Linked DNA regions of Homo sapiens: regions 1, 3 and 4 are each linked to region 2. Evidence: promoter capture Hi-C in 16 types of primary human blood cells and fetal thymus (Javierre and others, 2016). All regions are on one chromosome and are shown on one strand. Each heading gives the region's core, a stretch centred on a gene start or on the middle of the fragment in contact. The rest is flanking DNA. Distances are from core to core; before and after follow the strand shown. Region 1 has its middle 8.8 kb from the start of MIR6825. Region 2 holds the start of CHST13 (carbohydrate sulfotransferase 13). Region 3 overlaps LINC02034 (long intergenic non-protein coding RNA 2034). Region 4 overlaps LINC01471 (long intergenic non-protein coding RNA 1471).

What was found. Contacts are between HindIII fragments. The CHiCAGO score rates a contact against its expected background, and 5 or more counts as called.
Region 1: a contact is called between a fragment that was not itself captured here and the fragment with the promoter of CHST13 in region 2, in 1 of 17 cell types (M1 macrophages). The highest score is 5.2, in M1 macrophages.
Region 3: a contact is called between a fragment that was not itself captured here and the fragment with the promoter of CHST13 in region 2, in 15 of 17 cell types (total B cells, naive CD4 T cells, naive B cells and 12 more). The highest score is 33.1, in total B cells.
Region 4: a contact is called between a fragment that was not itself captured here and the fragment with the promoter of CHST13 in region 2, in 9 of 17 cell types (total B cells, naive CD8 T cells, naive B cells and 6 more). The highest score is 14.3, in total B cells.

The regions. Positions count from the first base shown.
Region 1 is chr3:127,565,159-127,567,858 of GRCh38, reverse strand. No RefSeq gene overlaps it. Among named protein-coding and RNA genes, the nearest start is that of MIR6825, 8.8 kb to the left of the region's middle. The HindIII fragment of the contact is 3,552 bases long and covers 1-2,700 here.
Region 2 is chr3:126,522,875-126,525,574 of GRCh38, reverse strand. CHST13 (carbohydrate sulfotransferase 13) reads right to left here and starts at 1,420. Exons shown (of 3, transcript NM_152889.3): 1 at 1,146-1,420. The coding sequence starts at 1,242. RefSeq lists enhancers at 33-533, 534-1,034, 1,095-1,595, 1,596-2,096. The HindIII fragment of the contact is 2,161 bases long and covers 749-2,700 here.
Region 3 is chr3:127,547,794-127,550,493 of GRCh38, reverse strand. All of the region lies in intron 6 of LINC02034 (long intergenic non-protein coding RNA 2034), which reads right to left. Among named protein-coding and RNA genes, the nearest start is that of LINC01471, 11 kb to the right of the region's middle. RefSeq lists a silencer at 2,251-2,570. The HindIII fragment of the contact is 683 bases long and covers 946-1,628 here.
Region 4 is chr3:127,528,776-127,531,475 of GRCh38, reverse strand. All of the region lies in intron 5 of LINC01471 (long intergenic non-protein coding RNA 1471), which reads left to right. Among named protein-coding and RNA genes, the nearest start is that of LINC02034, 7.2 kb to the left of the region's middle. The HindIII fragment of the contact is 5,147 bases long and covers 1-2,700 here.

The sequences.
Region 1 (2,700 bases), core at 13-2,512, 1.0 Mb before region 2:
ATGTTTTTGGTTGATGATTTAGGGGGATATGAAAGTAGTTCTAAACCCTATGTTCTGGCAGCATTCTAAACACTCGCCATGGGTTATACAGCTCCACTTTACAGACGGGGAAACCTGAGGGAGTGAGGTCACATGGCCAAATACATGGCGGTAGGGTGGGTTTTGACTCCAGGCAATCGGGCTGAGTCCAGGCCTCTGACCACTGCGCCGCACTGTCACATCTGACAGAAACACCCTCAGCACTGGAAGGGCCCCGAGCCTTGTTTCTTGGGCCATTGCATCAAAATGAGGAGCCTGTAGCCACTCCAAAACCAGTCTGGAGGATGTAGAGAAAATGCCGAAAGGATTGCTGGGATGGGACTGAGAGCGCCTGGGGTGATTATAGCAGAGCGGGGTCTGGAGTGCACACCTCTGGAGCATAGAACTAACTCGTTTCCACTCCTAGCTCTGCCACTTCCTCAAGTGAGCTGGCAGGCTTCCTGTATTCTGTGCCTCAGTTTCCCCACCTATAATGTGGGGCTGATTGTGCCTCCTTGGCTTCCATGAAGCCCCCACCCCATCCCGTGCAGGGCCTGGCCCAGTGCAGCATCTCCATCCGGGGAACTGTCCATGCTCTGTTTCTCAGCAGGACCTTCTCTGGAGGGTATAGGGGCTGCTTGTGGGGAGTGGCCCGTGTAATTGGCTCTGGGATCAGGAGCGTGCCCAACGATTTATTTCTCATATTGTTTGGGGACGGTGACTCAGCTGAATGCATTCTTCAAATCAAGATCCAAAAACCTGCTGTGAAGAGTGTTTAAAGCCGGCTCCGGGAGGCTCTGGGATGCAAGATCAGTTCTGCTTGGCTGGAGGCGAATGGTATTCTGGGGAAGACAGGGCCTAATTCGAGGTTGAAAATGTGAGAGCCACTCCAAGGAGCTGGCCCTCCCCATGGGCTGGGGCTTGCCCGGGCTGGAGCTGGGCCATGGGCTTGTGGGGCACACCCCTCACACCATTGGCCTCCCCACTGTGAGCACCTGGGCTGCCTCAGGGGCTGGCTCTGAAACCCTTGACTACAGACTGGAGTGGGTGACAAGCACCCTCCTCTAGACATTGATGCAGCCCTTGTGACGGTGGCCTTCCAGAAGGTTCCTACTCTTCCCAATTCCAAATGCTGACCCTCATCATCCTCATAAATGCAGGTATCCTGTGGGCTTGCACAATGTTTAAAATATTAGTTGTCAGATTTTAAATATTACAAGATTTCATATATTGTCCAAATATTAGGCTTCTCATTAAAAAAAAAATCAGAAGATGTGACAGTCTCAGATTGGGACATTTCTCCCCCAGTTCTGACTGGTCCTCCTGGCATGGACCATCATGTCTCCTGCCTGGCTCCTGCACATATCAGAGTTTCAGACATCCCTGCAATCCTGGGCCCTGTCATCAGGAGGATTCTCCCAGGCTACATCTTGTCCTTCCCACTCATAGCATTCTGCACATGTTTACTGAGCACCTACCTAGTATGCCTGTGCCATGCTCTATAGTGATCTAGATATAGAAGACAGACAATAAAACAAATTACAACCTTGTGTTGCCATGGAGTCCAGTCTTTTTTGCCTGCCCAGTCTTCTTAAAATAATTTTTTTTAAATAAAATAGAGATGGGGTCTCCCTATGTTGCCCAGGCTGGTCTTGAACTCCTGAGCTCAAATGGTCCTCTCGATTCAGCCTCCCAAAGTGTTAGGATCACAGGCGTGAGCCATCATACCTGGCCTGCCTGCCCAGACTTCTAAGATGCCCCCAACTTCCCTTCTGGGTACTGGCCCTTGCTTGGGCTCCTTGGTAGGAACATGCTCAGGCCTAGCCAATGAGGAACGTGCATGTGACTCAGGCTGAGCCAATCGGAATCACTGAGCTGCTTCTGGAATTCTTGAGAAAAAGAAGTGGCTTACTGCAGGGTTTGCCGAGCCGGTGGAATGTGGTTCTGGAGCTGCTCTAGCTCCCTTGTGAGAGTCTCTGAGGATGAGGCCATCAGGGCCATGGCAGAGCTTTGGAGAGGGGCAGGGCTCAGGAGCAAGCTCTCCGCCCAGCACCTGGATCCATCCGAGCCTGAGCAGGGCATGGCAGGCGTTTCCAGGCATTGCAGCCAACACAGCTCCTTTGTGGCTCAAGCCAGCTTAAGTTGAGTCTTGTCACTTGTAACTAGAGGAGCCCTGTCTTATGTGGGTGAGGGGTGAGCCAGGCAGAGGGATACCCAGGGGCTGCGGGCATGGGGAGGAGATCCAGCTCCAAGCTAGGGGCAAGGGCCTTCCAACCGGCAAGTTTGAAGGGTGAGCAGATGTCAGGGAAATGAAGGGAGGAGCAGAAAGGGAGGGCATTCTAGTCTGGGGAAGCCATGAGCACAAGACTGCTAGATCAGTGTGGATTGAAATAAGACGGGACTCTTAGAACCGTGGTTCAAATAAGGAATGAAATAGCGTCTTAGCTTTTACTAATTTTTTCCTTCATGCAGATGGCAATGATCCTCTTATAGTTTGACCAAAAAATTTCAGAAAGTGACAGATGTAAAATTAAATATTCTTAGCAGAGCAAGAAATGATCATACAAGACACCTCCTTGTGGGTCTTGCAGCCCGGAGAGCATCGCAGGTCGTGCTGGCAAAGCCCAAAGTCCAGGCACCTTAAAGACTTCTTTGTCCAAATAACCTTTCTGCAGACACTTT
Region 2 (2,700 bases), core at 171-2,670:
ATTGTCTGCTCAACACCACCAGACAGCTCACAGAAGGGGTTGTGGGGGTGCTGGAAAGAGACACCCCAGCCCTATCCCATGGGCTTGGGGAGGCATCCAGGTCTGACCTGCTGTGTCTGGACACACAAGGGGCAAGGGGCAGTGTGAGGGTCAGGGGGAGTGGGCAGAGGCCTCCCCAGGCCCTGATATCCTCAAGTCTTGGGCCACTCCCACCCCCACTGCCCAACATCCCCGCCCACCCTGGACCTAGTTACTTACTCCCTGGGACTGTGTCTGCCAGGTTCCAAGGGTGGGGCCCAGGATTCTCAGAGCCCACACTGGGGGTGGGGAGGCGGACTGAGTCGTCCCACCCAGCACGCATACCACATACAAGGAAAGGCAAACAGCCCTGAGGTCAGGAGACCCGGGCGCTGGCTGGGCCCCTCCAGTCCCAAGTAGATTGTATAGCCAGCACGTTGCCACCACACCTGTCTCCCCACTCTCTGGCCCGCTTCAGATTGTGTGAAATGGGTTGATGGGAGGCTTCACATGAGCTGAGGAGAGACTCAGAGCAAAGACTCAGCACCGGTGGAGCCCAGGGCACTCAGCTCTGCGGAGTCATGACTAACTGCCTCAGTTTCCCCAGCCAGACCACGAGTGGGTGCACAGGAGTCCCAAGCCCTACCCAGTGTGGATTTCAGGGTGGAGCAGGGAGTGGCACCCACTGCACAGTAGGACAACCAAGGGACCGGACCGAGTGGCCCAAGCTTCCCCTCCTATGCGCATGCGCCCAGCAGCGCTCATGTCCAGGGGCCGTGGGGTGCGCAGGGGAAGGGGGTGAAGGTAAGGGAGATGGCCTTCCCGGATTGGCCAATTGTCCTCTACCCCCCACAACTGACCCCGGTCTCCAGGCACCGGCTGTGGGACTCAAAACAGTCACCGCTCTGGGAGTGGGGAGGTAACTCCGGAGGAGGAGCAAGAGCCTTTGCTCGCGGGGGCGTCTAGAGCCTTTCTGTGCCTCACCAGCGCCCCTGCCCGCCACCCCTAGCCCCAGCCAGGAAGGAGACAACAGGTGTCCCCCGCGCTGTCGAGGGGTCAGGCCGCGGTGGAAAGCGCGAGGAGCCAGGTTTGGTTGGGGGTGCGCGGCTCGGCCGGCGGGCACTCACCCGGGCGCAGGGAGCGGGGCGCGGCGCATAGGAGCAGGAGCGCGGCGCCCAGACAGGCGGCCGCCAGCACGCGCCGCCGGCAGCAGCGCCTCCCCATGCTGTGCCGGGCGCGCGGCGGAGGACAGTCCGCTGGATACGGCTGGGGGCGGAGTTGCACTGGCCCAGGACCCGGCCCCGGCAGCGCAGCGCCTACCAAGACGCGCGGCGCGGCGCAGGGCAGGGGAGCACGGCAGCTGGACCCCAGCCCCACCAGCCCCTGCGAGTCGCTGGGGACTGAGGAGGCGGGACACGGTGGGGCCGCAAGCCCGCTCCTCTTTTCGTGCCCCCACCCTCACCCAATGGAATGGGGCCGAAGTCCAGGGCGCTAGGGCGGAGACTGATTGGGGAAGCCCCTCGCCTCTGGGCCCCGCCCCTAGGGTTTGCCCAGGGGTGCCATTATCCACCCAAGGCCAAGAGGCATTGTCGCGGTGGCGTGCCCCACCCCGGGCGGTGTCCCCTTGCCTTTTTGCTGCCTTAGATGCCAGGGGCCCAAGGGCTGATCTGGGATGAACCAAGGAGCCTAGTAGAGCGTTGCCCTGTCCATGGCTCTCCGGGACCCCCGCCCTCAGTAAGAGGCCTAAGAGTGTCCCTCCCTCCCCGACCCAAGGCTACCCTGCAGCCTTGCTTTCCTCCAGGGTCTCCAGGTCCTGCCTGAATCTAGCTCATGCAGGTGGCACTAGCCTTTGCACAGAGAGGTAGGGTCTCAGCTTACATCCCCCGGGGAATGGAGCTTGTGCCTCATCGTGTCACCCACAACTTCTCTGGGCACCACGTGAGCTCTGAGGACTTGCCAGGGACTGTGTGTGTGTGTGTGTGTGTGTGTGTGTGTGTGTGTGTTGGGGGGTGGAGGGGGCGAGGTGAGAGTAAAGTCCAGCCTTTGAAAGACACACACATCCAGCTAGCCCTGTGGGCAGGAGCCCACGTCTAACCGCAGGGTCTTGCTGCCCAGAAGTCAGGCTAGCAGGGAACGGGAGGGTGCAGCTGGCACTGGGTGCGCGGATGAGTGCGTTGGAAACAACATTTAGCAGTGTGAGTGCATGGGATAGGGTACTACATTACACTGTAGGTTTTTTTTGGAGTTTTTTGTATAAATGTAAGGGACACAAGTGCAGGTTTGTTACATGGAGATATGCAGTGGTGAGGTCTGGGCTTTCCGTGTAACCATCACCTAAATAATGTCCATTGTACCCATTAAGTAATTCCTCATCCCTCCCACCTCGCTCACTCTCCTACCCTTCCAAGTCTCCAGTGTCTATTATTCCACACTCGAAGCTCCAGTTGTTAAACTGTTCTTGAAAAATGTGGTGACTCCAAACCCACCTGGTGCCGCTTACTGCTGTGGGAGATTAGGAAATTAACTGCACCTCTCTGTTTCCCATTTTCCTGTACGGGGGGATAATCCTAAACCTCAGTGCTGTGAAGATTAAATGAGATACAGGAAATGTTTGCAACAGTGTCTGGCACTCAGTGAGTGCCAGGTAAGTATTTGATATTAGTAATTAATTTGTTTATGGTT
Region 3 (2,700 bases), core at 38-2,537, 1.0 Mb before region 2:
GTTCCTGACCACCCCATGCCCCAGACAGGTGACCACTTGTACTGATTTCTTATGGATCCTTTTAATGTTTCTTTACACAAACATATACAAATAGACATTCTTATTTCTCCACCCCATTCCTACACAAAAGCCTTATACTGTGTGCGTGGTTCTGCATGTTTGTTTTTCTGCTAACATCTACTAGCATGGCCCAGGGAATGCAGCCTCTCTTGGCTCGTCCCTAAGTGTTAGAGTGTGCAGATTCTTCATTCATTCATTCATTCATTCATTCATTCATTCATGTATTTATTGGACATCCATTATGTGCCAGGACTGTTCTGGGCCCTGGGATCTAGCGGTAGTGGTGAGTCTCACAGCAATGTGGAAGGACCTGTTTCCCAACAGCATGTGGAATTTTCCTATCAGCCCACGGAGCCTCCTCACTGTCTTCAACAACTGTGCGGTATTCCACTGTGTGCCCAAAGCAGAGTTTGTCTAACCAGCTCCTAGATGGGTTGTTTCCAATATTTTCATGATTACAAACGGCAGCAGTGCCTCCCGTGGTGGAACTGTGAGGACGCATCATTTCGTGGTGCCCAGGATGTTTGCAAGACCCATGCTCAGAGGTAGGGTTGCAGGGTCACATGGTAAATATGACAGCCCTTTCTATGGACAGCTTCCCCTCCAGAGGGTGTTCCCTTGACTCTCATGGCAATGTGGAAGGACCTGTTACACACACACACACACACACACACACACACACACGCTGTCGGCAGCACTAGAATTCTTTGCTGTTCTGATAGGTGAGAAATGGTAACTTGATGTCATTAATTTCCATTTCTGTTATCATGTGTGGAGTTGGACATTTGTCATACATTTAGGGGCCTTTTGAGTTTTCTGTAAACTGTCTATTCAAGTTTTCTGCCAATTTTCGGGGGGGTTGTCTTTTCTAGATTTCTAGAAGCTTTTAATGTATTAGGTTAGACCAGGGATTGGCAAACTGTTGCCTGTGGGATAAATTGGGCCCACTGCCTTTTAAATTTTTTTGTAAATAAAATTCTACTGGAACAGAGCTGCACTCACTGTCTGTGGTTGCCTTCTGCCACCACAGCAGAGCTGAACAGTTGCCACAGATACCCTCATGGTCTGCAAAGCTGAAAGTACTCACTACACAGCCCTTTACACAAACAGCCTGCTGACCCTGTGCTAGACTTTTGTAATGAGTTTCAAACATTTTCCCCAGTTTCTCATTTGTCTTTTGACTTTTCCTTTTTCTTTAAGTGCATTTTTAGCTTAAAGATAGTTTCTGGTCGGGCACGCTGTCTCACTCCTGTAATCCTAGCACTTTGGGAGGCCGAGGTGGGTGGATCACGAGGTCAGGAGCTCGAGACCATCTTGGTCAACATGGTGAAATCCCGTCTCTACTAAAATACAAAAAATTAGCCAGGTGTGGTTAGCTGGGCATGGTGGCATATGCCTGTAGTTCCAGCTACTTGGGAGGCTGAGGCAGGGGAATTGCTTGAACCTGGGAGGTGGAGGTTGCAGTGAGCTGAGATCGTGCCACTGCACTCCAGCCTGGGTACAGAGCAAGACTCCATCTCAAAAAAAAAAAAAAAGTTTCTTGGACATCTTTTGATAGGGCTAAAGCTTGACTTCTGGAGGGTCTTGCTTCTCAAAAACCACCCTTTTTATATGCCAGCCTCTGAGGTTCACTGTCGCTTGTGTGTCTGGTTTTTTTTTTTTTTTTTTTTTTTTTTTTAAACAGGGTCTTGCTCTGCTGCCCCGGCTGGAGCGCAGTGGTGTGATCACGGCTCACTGCAGCCTCGACCTCCTGTGCTCAAGCGATCCTCCCGATCCTCCCGCCTCAGCCTCCTCAGTAGCTGGAACTACAGGTGTGCGCCACCAAGTCAGGCTAATTTTTAAAAATTTTTTGTAGAGATGGGGTTTCCCTGTGTTACCCAGGCTGGTCTCGAACTTCTGGGCTCAAGTGATCCGCCCTTCTTGGCTTCCCAAAGTGGTGGAAATACAGGCATGAGCCACCGTGACCGGCCTGTTGCTTGAACTTCATTCCAGTGCTAAAAGGAAATGCATGAAAAGACAGACTTAAACCAAAACTATGTAGACATTGATGGAGAATTTGGCACTTGGATACTTGGATTCTTACTGCTGAGATTTCAATGGTTTGAGACGTGAAGATTGAAGCTGGGGATATGATGATGCCCGTGTTACAGATGAGGACACTGAGGCTCAGACAGTCGTGCAGCCTGCTGGCCTGCGGGGACGGGGACAGCGCTGCGGGACGGCGCCTGGCGCTGGGTCGGCCACTCCCAGCTGGTGACCTTGGCCACTCCCAGCTGGTGATCTTGGCTGTGAAGCGAGATCCAGAGAGGGGAGGGGCCCCAAGGACCCAGCCGAGTGCGGGCAGGGCGGAGCTGAGCGTGGGTCCCAAGGGAGTCCCCGACGTTCTGCGGCCCCCCCAACGCCCGGCCTCTGGAGGCCGTAGGGGCTCCCTGGCCTCTCGCCCCCAGTGCAGCCCGGGCACAGTGCAGTCGCTCCGCGCCATGCTTGACGTGGGCACCAGGGGGCGGTGCGGCACCAGGCATGGCGGCGCGCGGGGCCGGGCTCCGGAAGGGGAGGGGGGCGGAGGGGAGGGGAGGGGAGGGTAGGGAAAGGGACGGGAGGACAGCAAGGGGAGGGGAGAGGAAGGAGAAAGAGGGGAGG
Region 4 (2,700 bases), core at 103-2,602, 1.0 Mb before region 2:
TTTTAGTATTTCCTCTACATACGTTGGCAATCACATCATTCAGTGTTATAACTTTTGCTTCAATTGTCAAGCATAATTTAGAAAACTCAAGAGATGAGGTCTATTGTCTCTATCTATATTTTGTTGACTGTGTTCTTCCTTCCTTACACTTTGAGATTCCTTCTTTTCTCATTTTATTTGTTTGGCAAACTTCCTTTAATCACTCCTTTTGGGTAGGTCTGCTGGTGACAAAGTCTCTGTTTTTTTTTTCTTCTGAAGATGTCTTGATTTCCTCTTGATTTCTGAAGGATATTTTCACTGGATGTAAGATTCTGGGCTGAGAGTTCTTTTCTTTCAGCTCTTGAAAATTGCTGTGCCACTTCCTTTTGGTCTCCATGGTTTCAGTGAGAAATCTGCTGTCATTAAAATGGTTTTCCCTTACAGGTAAGATGCTGTTTCTTTTTTCTCTCTCTCTGTCGCCCAGGCTGGAGTGCAGTGGCACAATCTCGGCTCACTGCAACTTCTGCTTCCTGGGTTCAAGCGATTCTCCTGCTTCAGCCTCCCGAGTAGCTGGGACTACAGGCGCGTGGCACCATGCCCGGCTAATTTTTTGTATTTTTAGTAGAGATGGGGTTTCACCGTGTTAGCCAGGATGGTCTCGATCTCCTGACCTCGTGATCTGCCCGCCTCATCCTCCCAAAGTGTTGGGATTACAGGCGTGAGCCACCGCACCCAGCCTGTTTCTGTTTTTTTTTTTTTTTTTTGAGGTAGAGTCTCTCTCTGTCTCCCAGGCTGGAGTGCAGTGGTGCGATCTTGGCTCACTGCAACCTCTGCCTGTCAGATTCAAATGATTCTCTTGCCTCAGCCTCCCTAGTAGCTGGGATTATAGGCATGCGCCATCACACCTGGCTAATTTTTGTATTTTTAATAGAGACGGGGTTTTGCCATGTTGGCCAGGCTGGTCTTGAACGCCTGACCTTAAGTGATCTGCCCTCCTCGGCCTCCCGAAGTGCTGGGATTACAGGCGTTAGCCATGGCGCCTGGCCAAGATGTTTTTTTCTTGCCACTTTCAAGATTTTTGTCTTTGTCTTCAGTTTTCCGAAGTCTCAATAGAAGGTGTCTTGGCATAGGTTTGCTTTGATTGATGCCATTTGGGGTTTGCTCAGGTTCTTGAATCTGTAAATTTATGTCTTTTGCCAAATTTAGGAAATTTCTAAACATTATTTCCTTGAAAATCTTTTCAGCTCCACCCTCATCTTTCTTCCTTTCTGGGTCTCTCACGACATGGATGCTAGGCCTTTTGTAATAGAGAGACCAAAATATAGACCAAAATGTATATAGGCCAAAATATACATACCCGAGATTCTGCTCATTTTTATCTAAGTCTATTTTTTGCTTTGTTGTTCAAATTAAGTAATTTCTATTATTTTATCTTTAGGTTCACTGACTCTTCCCTCCAGCCTCTCTGTTCTGGCGTTGAGCCATCCACTGAGTTAATTTTGGCTGTTGCGTTTTCAACCCTGAGTTCCCATTTTGTTCCTCTTTGTGGCTTGTTTCTCTGCAGAGATTTTCTATTTTCTCACTTGATTCTGTTGTGTTTGCCGTTGAGCATTTTTGTGATGGTGGCTTCAAATTGTTCAGATGATGCTGCTGTTGGTGTCATCCTGGGTTAGTCTCTGCATCTCTTCTCATCAGGGTCGGTGTTTTCCTGGATCCTGGTGTGGAGTGATTTGTGATTGAAGCCTGGATATTAGGGGTTATGTGGTGGGGCTCCTGGCCTTATTTAAACCTCTGTCTCAGCAGCCTCCTTTGAGGCCCGGCTGTGGTGGACTTCCTTGCCCCCAGCTGGGCTTCTCCAATACCTTCCCAAGGAGGGGTGGCATCTCAGTCAGTACATCTGGGTGAGGGTGGAGGTCTAGGCTCCCTCCTCAGTCTCTGCTGGCCAGGGTGGTGTGGGGCCTCGTCTTTTCCTGTGTGGTCTGATGGCGTAGGTCAGTTATCTTCTAAAGTTTTCCAGAATGCCCCTTGCCTGGCTAGAGGGAGCAGGTTTTTTTGGGGGATTGTTTTCTGAGCCTGTTGGTATTTCTAGGTTGCTGACTCTTTAGCACCCAGTTTGGCAAACACGAAGCAAAAAGATGGAACTCACCACCATGCTGTTGCCAGGTCCTGAGGCTCCCAGCTTGTGCTTCTCTGCACATGTTAGGGCCTCCTTGTATTCATTCTACACAGAATACCCATGACTTTTAGCTGTATTTGGTGGGGGGAAATAAGAAAAAGTACCTTGACTTCTTCCATCTTTCTGGTTGCAGCAGTTCCAGTGGGTAAAGCCCTTTGAAATTGCACACATACACCATCCTCTACGCCAGCCTCCTTCAAGATTCTGAGCTGTGCACTGCTGTTATTCATACTGTTTGTCTGCTCTAATTGTCCAATTCTTGTGAAAAGTCTAAACATGACCTTGGGTGATACCCTGGGGTGCATAGAGCAGAAAGCCAAGCTATAATGAGAGGTTCCTTGGATCTCAGAGGGTGGGCAGGGTCTGGAGGCAGGGCAGCTGGGATGGGGCTGGGCTGAGGTTTGGAGAGGCCTGGGTCCAGGCCAGACGAAAGCCAGTCCTTGGATCCACAAACACCCACAGCCAATCCATGCTAATTCTACGCATTCATGAGTTGTCCTCTAAAACTCTTCTTCCCAATTTCCTCCAAAACCCTCCATGTCATC